Linked DNA regions of Homo sapiens: region 1 is linked to region 2. The links are contacts of gene promoters, found by promoter capture Hi-C in blood cells and fetal thymus (Javierre and others, 2016). All regions are on one chromosome and are shown on one strand. Each heading gives the region's core, a stretch centred on a gene start or on the middle of the fragment in contact. The rest is flanking DNA. Distances are from core to core; before and after follow the strand shown. Region 1 has its middle 12 kb from the start of TSGA13. Region 2 holds the start of TMEM209 (transmembrane protein 209).

The links. The method cuts DNA at HindIII sites, captures the fragments that hold promoters and counts their contacts. A CHiCAGO score of 5 or more calls a contact.
Region 1: a fragment that was not itself captured here is called in contact with the fragment with the promoter of TMEM209 in region 2 in 1 of 17 cell types (erythroblasts); the score reaches 5.6 in erythroblasts.

Annotation. Positions count from the first base shown.
Region 1 is chr7:130,696,401-130,701,644 of GRCh38, reverse strand. No RefSeq gene overlaps it. Among named protein-coding and RNA genes, the nearest start is that of TSGA13, 12 kb to the right of the region's middle. The HindIII fragment of the contact is 1,578 bases long and covers 523-2,100 here.
Region 2 is chr7:130,203,200-130,207,938 of GRCh38, reverse strand. TMEM209 (transmembrane protein 209) reads left to right here and starts at 2,533. Exons shown (of 15, transcript NM_032842.4): 1 at 2,533-2,566; 2 at 3,829-3,965; 3 at 4,093-4,151. The coding sequence starts at 2,564. SSMEM1 (serine rich single-pass membrane protein 1) reads right to left here and starts at 79. Exons shown (of 3, transcript NM_145268.4): 1 at 1-79. The coding sequence starts at 28. RefSeq lists enhancers at 2,269-2,378, 2,439-2,618, 2,295-3,094 and a silencer at 3,756-4,050. The HindIII fragment of the contact is 16,046 bases long and covers 1-4,739 here.

The DNA.
Region 1 (5,244 bases), core at 62-2,561, 490 kb before region 2:
TAATAAAAACAGGCACTCAAATAAGCACATGTACACACATGTTCATAACAGCACTATTGATAATAGTCAAAAGGTGGAAACAGCCCAAATGTCTATCAGTGGAAGAGTGGATAAACAAATTGCAGTATATTCATAAGCATATTTTTCAGTGATTAAAAAAAAGGATGAAGTACCGTACCTAATACATGCTATAACATGGATGAACCTCTAAAACATTAGCTAAGTGAAAGAAGCCAGACACCAAAGATCACATATTGTATGATTCCATTTGTATGAAATATCCAGAATAGATAAATTCATAAAGATAGAACACAGATTGGTGGCTGCCAGGTACTGGCAGGTTAGAGAGAAAGAGGAGAAACTGTTTAATGTGCAAAAGGTTTTACTTTAGAGTGAAGAAAATGTTTCAAAACTAGATAGATGCGGTGGTTGCACAATGCTGCAAATGAACTAAATGTCACTGAATTTAAAATAGTTAATTTAAAAAATCTTGGTGGAGGCACACACACACACACAAAAGCTTTCTATCCAGGGAAAAAATTAATGGACAGCTAATAGAATTAAAGAAAATTATTCATACCATTTAAAGCTGACTATGGGTTGATATCTAGAATATATAACAAAATCTTGCAAATTCACAAGAAAATGTCAGCAACTTCATTAAAATAATAGGCAAAAGATATGAATCAGCATTTAAATAAGGAACCAAAAGTTGATAAATATGAAGAAATGTTTAAACTCATTAATAATCAAAGAAATGCAAATTGAAACAACAGTGAAATAGGGAAGAATTAGAAAGTTGAATGATACTAAGTGTGGATGGGGCAATGTGACTTAGCTCATGTTCGCCAAAAGCCAATCTTGAGACATAGATTTATTTTCAAATAACTTATTAAGAAAGTCATCCCAGCATAAACTGGTAAGGAAGTTGGGGATGAAGGACAGAAAAATAGAAGAAACTAAAGAAAGATGTACTGTATTTCAGACAGAGTCCTAGCCTTAATCTGATCCTATAAGGGAGTTCTGGAGAGGAAATTATGCCTCAGCCTGAAAGAGTCTAAGGCAAAGGAGCTGGGCTTTCATCCTTATACTGCAGTGGTCCATTGACTACAGATGTACTGGGGGTACCTAATCTCCCAGACACTTCCTATTCTCTGGGATAAGTGGCTCCAGTAGCCCAAGGGCAATCCTTCAAAGCAGATATTTAAAAGAGGCAGCCATTGTGGAGTGCAATTTGGCATTTCTTTCTTTCTTTCTTTTTGAGACAAAGTCTCACTCTGTCGCCCAGGCTGGAGTACAGTGGCACTCTGTTGGTTCACTGCAACCTCCGCCTCCCGGGTTCAAGCAATTCTCCTGCCTCAGCCTTACGAGTAGCTGGGACTACAGGTGCGAGCCACCACACCCGGCTAATTTTTGTATTTTTAGTAGAGATGGGGTTTTGCCATGTTGGTCAGGTTGGTCTCCAACTCCATGTTGGTCAGGTTGGTCTCCAACTCCTGACCTCAGGTGATCTGCCAGCCTTGGCCTCCCAAAGTGCTGAGATTACAGGCAGCAATTTGACATTTCTCAGACAAATTATATTAAACAAATATATCTTATGACCCAGCATTTTTATTTTTTAGACATATATTCCCCCAAAATATAACATGAGGTTCATAAGGAGAATATTTAGTTGCCCACAGGGTGTGGCTTTTTCCACAGAACGCTGCAGGTCACTAATGTGATCCTACCTACTGAGGAGTCACATGGGCTGGTTTCGTCATCCCGACCTTTTCGCATCATTGGATCTACTGAATCATAAGAGCCAAGTGACAGAGCTGCTTGCTTGCAGCCTGAACCAGCTGAAGGAACTTTTCTTGCTTTAAGTCCCACTAAAATTTGTCAGTTTTTCAAAGTCACCTATTGGATTTGTCAGTGTAACACACCCAAATGTGCCATTGGTTGCCACCAAAAATTTTACATTTTTCTTACTGTAAGGCAGGCCAGTCCACTGAGGAGGAGATAACCTGTATACTCCTAAACTGGACCCTCTAGAAGATGCATTAATGTAAAAGCCCTCAGATTTTCTTCTTCCTGACATTCATGAGTTTTACCAAAGCTTTTAGGATATTCCCTGCTTTCTTAGCCCTCTCTGTAGTGGACCAGCATAATTTTCTTTGGAATGGTGAGAGGATCAAGGTTCTTCTATCAGTCAGAGTCTAATCATAAGAACGTAAACCACACTAGATATTTCAAACAAAGGGTAGTTAATAAAGGGAATTGATTACGCAGGTATTGGAACACCAAACAAGCAAAAATGAGAGGTTGAGGCAACCCACAGATTAATCTCTTTAGAAGGTACCACCTTAGACCTGGGGGAACAAAATGGAAGAAGTGATATTACCAGAACATACAGAAGAGGATACTTTACTTCTAGTGCTTAGACTGCTGAGGAAGTGTAGGCTGCACCACTCAAGGGGCTATGGCCAAATGGATAAAAGTGAATGATGGGCTTGGCTGCTACTAGTATCTTGATGGGGCATAGTGAGAATATTGCTGGGAATAACAAGCTGAAGGCTGGAATCAAATCATAGCTGTCTGCTGTAGCTGGAGAGTAAGCAAACTAGAACTGGAAACTGGAAGACACTACTTCTTACCTCCTCCACTTTATGGTTTTTGGAAGTGCCTCCAATTGGCAGAAGCTAGCTAGCAAGGGGCTCTGGAATGTGAAGTTTGCAGTGTCTAGTCACAGTGTCCTAGTGCAGAGTACAGAAAAATAATGGGCAAATATCTGACACACTTGCCGCAAAATGGTAAAGATGTATTGTTGTCCCTGCCAGATGAAAGCGAATGGTTTCTGGTATTTTTTAATCCCAGCCAAAGTAACCCAATACCTCCTAGATTTACTTGGACATCTCCAACCTGCTATAATTGGCCCTCTTGTTTGGTAGGAGGCTCTTGGACGTCACCTGTAACATAGAGATATGGTAGCACAGGAGGCAAAGTAGATAGGGGTGAAGGAATTTTTTTAAAGAGGACATAAAGAATGAGAAAAAACTCCTAGGACTACCTTTTTCAGCCATTATGTGTTACTATATTTTTGATATATGTAGGCAAATAGTACATGGCCATATTTTTAAAATCCACCCTGAGAATGTCTTTCTCTTAGGTGAACTTACTCCATTTATGTTTAATATGATTATTAATTTATTTGAACGTTTAATTTTTACCATCTTATTTTGTGTCTTCAATTTAACATGCTTTTGTTTTTGTTTTTATTCTTATTCTTTTTTAACTTATGCTACATCAATTTTTAAAATTCATTTCTATTTGTTTGAAAATTATAAATGTTCAGGCATCTCCCATTTAAGTCAATAATACTTTCCTGAAAACCAGATGTTACATATAAAAATGCTAAGTGAGGGTGTACTTCCTATAATTTTAAATGGAAATTATTATAATGGGTTACATGTCAACAAAAGTCCCCCAATCAAGTTCCTAAAACATAACTTAAGTGTCCATATATCATTAACACATTTTCATGTTAGAGAGGAAAATGCTTTAGAGTTGCTTTCTGATGAAAAACAATGAATATAAATGTTAACAAACAGTTGGTTTGATGCAATACTTTGGCCTCTCAATACCAGCAACATCTGAAACTCATATGACCCTTTGTCAATACTTGTGCTTTATAAAATGACTACATATGATTTCCACACTCTGCTAATTGTATTTGGAACGTAAATCAAATGATTACTTGCACATCTTTAAAAGGCACGTTTTTAAAGTGGTATTGAGTTTTAAGGCCATGAACATAAACTCTTCTTAGACAAATAGTGGATGAAAAATATTGTATTGAGAAATATATGTCTATAAAATTCATATTGTTTTTTGAGATGGAGTCTCACTATGTCACCCAGGATGGAGTGTAGTGGCGTGATCTTGGCTCACTGCAACCTCCACTTCCCAGGTTCGACCAATTCTCCTGCCTCACCCTCCCAAGTAGCTGGGACTACAGGCGCGCACCACCATGCCTGGCCAATTTTTTTATTTTTGTTTTTATTTTTTTAGTAGAGACAGGGTTTCACCATGTTGGCCAGGCTGGTCTTGAACTCCTGGCCTTAAGTAGTCCACCCACCTTGGCCTCCTAAAGTGCTGGGAATACAGGCATAAGCCACCATGCCCAGCCTATAAAATTAGTATCTAAAAGCAAGAAAGGCTGGGCGCGGTGGCTCATGCCTGTAATCCCAGCACTTTGGGAGGCCCAGGCAGTGGATCATGAGATCAGGAGTTTGAGACCAGCCTGGCCAATGTAGTGAAACTCCGACTCTACAAAAATACAAAAAAACTAGCTGGGCCTGGTGGCGGGCGCCTGTAATCCCAGCTACTCAGGAGACTGAGTCAAGACAATCGCTTGAACCTGGGAGGCGGAGATTGCAGTGAGATCGTGCCGCTGCACTCCAGCCTGGGAAACGGTGCAAGACTCTGTCAAAAAAAAAAAAAAAAAAAAGGCAAGAAAACATTCACAATACTAACAAGCAAGAAAGCAAGACTTTCTGTGGGATATATTTGCACATTCTTTTAGGAACTGCCTTTACAATTTCAAAATGCAATTTTTTTTTTTTTTGAGATGGAGTCTCGCTCTTGTTGCCCAGGCTGGTGTGCAATGGTGCCATCTCGGCTCACTGCAATCTCCGCCTCCCAGGTTCAAGCAATTTTCCTGCGTCAGCCTCCCGAGTAGCTGAGATCACAGGTGTACACCACCACACCCAGCTAATTTTTGTATTTTTAGTAGAGACAGGGTTTCTCCATGTTGACCAGGCTAGTCTCGAACTCCTGATCTCAAGTGATCCACCCACCTCGGCCTCCCAAAGTGCTGGGATTACAGGCGTGAGCCACCACACCCGGCCCAAAATGCAATTTTTATAAAGTTAATTTCAGGTGAAAATGGGAGACCTGGGTCAGAGTTTGCCTATAATGCCCTACACCTATTCTGTTGTGTTTCTGTCTGGCCCATGTTGGTGTATTGCATTTCCTTAGAGACCTAGCCTTGTACATTACCTGAATGTGCCCCTCGTGGCATGTGCTAGTCATGCTTTCCCGCCTACAAAAACCACATCACCTTGAAACCCACAAGAGAATACCTAGGGCTGGGCTCAGTGGCTCACACCTGTAATCCCAGCACTTTGGGAGGCCGAGGTGGGTGGATCACGAGGTCAGGATATCGAGGCCATCCTAGCCAACATGGTGAAACCTCGTCTCTAC
Region 2 (4,739 bases), core at 1,284-3,783:
CCCAAAATAAGGAAAAAAGGTCTCCCATGATGACTCCTTGCTCAGAAAATAAACCATGCTTAAAGGGATAAAGATGACTGGGAACTACTTCACTCCCTCTATGATGTATGACAATTTCCTTGGCAACCTATTATGACACATACTTAAGCAACTGTTCTAGGAACTGACAAATGCTTCTTGGACTTCTAAGTTTGTGGAAGGTTATTCAAATTACTCCTCTGAATGTTTATGTTATTTTCCCCCATACCTCAATATGGTGCATTCTGCCTTAATTTTTTTTCCTAAAACTTGTATATGCTATATTTTCCTATCTTCACGTCTAAGTGTTTAATGTATCCACTCATTTTAATTCAGTCTCTTTTATATGTATCATGCCATTGCAAATTATCATAGACAGTTCTAATGTATTACCGATCAAACTGTGTTCCCTAAAATTCATATGTTGAAGCCCTCACCTCCAGTGTGACTCTATTTGGAGACAGGGCCTTTAAGGAGGTAATTAAAGTTAAATGAGGTCATAAGGGCCCTAATCCAATACAATTGGTATCCTTACAAGAAGACAGCAAGGATTCACGAGCACAGAAATCAAGGTCACAATACAAGGGGGCCGTCTGCAAGGAGACCCGCCTCAGGAGAAACCAACCCTGCTGACAATTTGATCTTAGACTTCCAGCCTCCAAAATTATGAAAAAAATAATTTCTGTTGTTTAAGCCACCTGTCTGTGATATTGCGTTATGGCAGCCCTAATACATAATGCTGTCATTTGGTCAGTGGTGTTCTTTTTTAAGCCTTGAATAAATGCACAACAGCTTATAGATTAAGAGGGAAAAACACAGATGTGCCCGTTATGAACTACTATGAACTACATCAAATGCATACAATTTCTTCTTAGGAAAGAGTCACATATGGAGGGGGTGGGAAACCGGTATTCTAATTTTTTTTTTTTTTTTTTTTAGCAGGGTCTCACTCTGTCGCCCAGACTGGAATGCAGTGGCACCATCTTGGCTCACCGCAACCTCGGCTTCCCAGGCTCAAGTGATTCTCCTGCCTCAGCCTCCAGAGTAATTGGGATTACAGGCGCATGCCACCACGCCCTACTAATTTTTTGTCTTTTTAGTAGAGACAGGGTTTCAGCGTCTTGGCCAGGCTGGTCTCCATCTCCTGACCTCGTGATCCGCCCGCCTCGGCCTCCCAAAGTGTTGGGATTACAGGCGTGAGCCACCGCGCCCGGCCGGTATTCTAATTTTGATTGCACCTTGAGCCCTTTCACTTTGAACAATTTTCCAGTTAGTTCATCTCTAAATCTAAAACTAGAGCAAAACAACATTGCTGCTAAAGCAATCTAAAAATGATAAAACTTAACAGCTCTTCAAGAGCACAGCATACCTGCCGATTTTCATTAATATACAATACCACGTGGTATTAATCTTAGGATCATTTTAGGAAAAACTTTGGCCATTGGACATACATGATGTAATCCACTAGCTTACTGTGGCATGGCTTAATGTTTTTATTAGGAGGCACACTTCAGAACAAGTCCCCAGGCCCTGGGTTTCTGGCTGTGGACTCTAACGCGTCATCTCCTCCAGGAAGCTCGCGAGAGCTGGGGCTGGGCTGGATGCGCCTCCTTGGGGAGCACTGCATCCACCTCACCTGCCACCGAAATGCATCTGTGGGCCTCCGCTGGGGTTGAGCTCCTCTGGGTAATAACCAGGAAGGTCTTATTTTCTATATCCGTGCGCCTGGCTCAGCGGCACACTTGTAGGTATTTGTGCTAAATAAAACAAAGCTCAACCTTTTCCTCAGGATGAGCAGCTCTTCCAAAAAATACATACGAAAATGTGTTATTATTTTTAACCTCAAAACCACTAGCAACTTCAATAAAACAAATTTTGGGTGTGCTTGTTATTGCTGCACCCTATTAAACAGATTAAGAATTTAGGCCGGGCGCGGTGGGCCACGCCTGTAATCCCAAAAGGCGGTGGGAGGCCAGCAGGCGTTTGGGAGGCTGAGGCGGGCGGATCCCTTGAGGTTAGGAAATCGAGACCAGACTGGCCAACATGGCGAAACCCTGTCTCTACCAAAAAAAAAATTACATGGGGTCAGGACTCTTGACATAGATACTTTAACACAGGGGAAAGAAATGCTTTGTCACTGATGGTGTCTGGCCACTTTATCACGCCACTCTATCCTACGGTGAGCCGCCCTACTTAATCAGTTTACACATGTGAGTCCATAAATGCCCTAGGGAAGCTAAAATTATATTAATAGATACAAAATTCAGCTTGTTACAATTATTACTTTTTACTGCGGGTTCAGAGCCTGGTCTGAATTTTGCTGCTTAGCTTTCTCCCGCAGCTGAGTGGGAGCCGCAAAACCGAGACCTGTTTCCCTGGTAACGCTCCGAGCGCCTGGGCCTGCGACCCCTCCCTTTCTCGCGAGAAGAGACTACCTAGTTCTTCCGGTAACTTTAGAGCCGCTTGCCGGTGGCCTCCCGCTTGAGCTTGGCTTTGCGCATGCCCAGAGAGAGTGGCGCGAGCCTGCGTTTTCCGGCCAGAGGACATGGTGCGTTTTCGGGGTCGTGTTTGTGCTTCCTGTCTTGGAATCTACGCGGGTTGTGGGAGTTCCGCGCCTGCTGATCTGTCCTGGGTTCAGCCAAGGGGGATGTGGCTAGGCGTTCCGCCTCTCTAGGGGAAGGGAAGAAAGAAGCAATAGGGTTGCTGAAGTTCGTGCCCAGGAGCCGGGGAGGGAAGCTCTGGACTGGGAAATTGGGACGCGGGGGCTGAGTGGCGCGAAAGCTATTGCTCTGTCCTCTGTGGGATACGACTGCTTGTCGCTGGAACAAGTTTTGCACGGTCTGTAAGAGTTGAGCCTAGCTGAAGAAAGGAGGAATTATAAATCCCAAATGTGGACCAAAACAATGCACGTTTTCCCCTCTCTCCCTCTTACTCCGCTCACCACCCCATCATAAGTACGTGCCCTTCTAAAACTTGGATCCTTGTCCTTTATCCACACACAAAAGGGAGAGCCCTGGAGTACAGCTGTCCAAGTGCAGAGTTGTTGAGATAGTAATGGCGTCTGCATGAGGATGTACAACAGTCTTTATGACTTACAGCAGATATGGAATATAGTCTCCCAAAACTTGACATTTTGAGTTTCTGAAGTTAGCCTTTTGCCTAGTCCGTGTAACATACCCCAAAGACAAAATACAAAGTATTTCTAGACATAACCCTTAAATTACAAAATAAGACATTTTTATGTATTGGAAGTATTAAATTGTTCTTAAATAACCAGCCACGGCTGGGCGCGGTGGCTCACGCCTGTAATCCCAACACTTTGGGAGGCCGAGGCGGGTGGATCACAAGGTCAGGAGTTCGAGACCAGCCTGGCCAAAATGTTGAAATCCCGTCTCTACTAAAAATACAAAAATCAGTCGGACGCGGTGGCGGGCGTCTGTAATCCCAGCTACTCGGGAGTCTGAGGCAGGAGAATCGCTTGAACCCGGGAGGCGGAGGTTGCAGTGAGTCGAGATCGCGCCACTGCATTCTAGCCTGGGAGACAGCAAGACTCCGTCTCAAAACAAATAAATAGATAAATAACCAGCCACTTCTCTGTTGATTACACTGTGATGCCAATTAAGTTACATATAATTTTGGGTTCCCTTTTCATATACTGATATTAAAATGGAAGAAGTTTTGATAAAACATTTTAAAGATGAGAGAAGGTATATGCGGTTTCAGTTACCTTTATAAGGGATGCAAAATTTGGTTTTTAAATGGAGCAATAGTTTCTTCTGGTTAATTCCTGTGCTTTTTGTTTTTTCATAGATGCAGGGGGAGGCACACCCTAGTGCTTCCCTTATTGACAGAACCATCAAGATGAGAAAAGAAACAGAGGCTAGGAAAGTGGTCTTAGCCTGGGGACTCCTAAATGTATCTATGGCTGGAATGATATATACTGAAATGTAAGTGAATCAGTCCAAAAAAAGTGAAACTTTAAGAAGCCAGTGGCTGGTTCCACAGGTTTTTGTGTTTGTTTTTGATTTTTGGTGTTTTTAGGTTCACTGGAAAGCCTTTCTAATTTTTTTTCAGGACTGGAAAATTGATTAGTTCATACTACAATGTGACATACTGGCCCCTCTGGTATATTGGTAAGTAAGTAATTTTCACTGTAACTTACATTTACCAATAAAAAACTGCCTTCAGGTTTAATTCAGCTTAGTATACATTTCCTTATTCAACAAGTATTTGACTGCCTGCTGGGTTGTAAAAACTGGGAATACAGCAGAAAGGGAGCAAGGTAAATCCCTGCTATTATGAAAGGAACATTCTGTTAGACAATCAGATTAATAACACTTCAGGTAATTATGAGTTCTGTGAAGAAAAATAAGTTTAGAGGTTAGTGAGATTTGTTTTTATTACTCTCCTGAAATGCGCTTTCTGTGTCTCTACCTTTTTACTTTTCAAGACCAGCCCAGATTTCTGCTCCATTGATGCCTTCCTCAGTTTTCACATTCTTTCCTCTCTTCTTGTCTGCTCTTCCATAGTCATTGGGTATAAAGAGTCTTTATGGATGTTAAAGTAAATTTCATAGTCTATACACATTAAAGTCTTTCACAGGGAGATAGTGTGCCAAGTTGGGAGAGCAAGGGATTTGCAATCAGCAGACCTCAGTTAGAATCATGGCTTCACTAACTAACTCTCTACTCTTGTAAGAGTCACTTGGCTTCTGAATAATG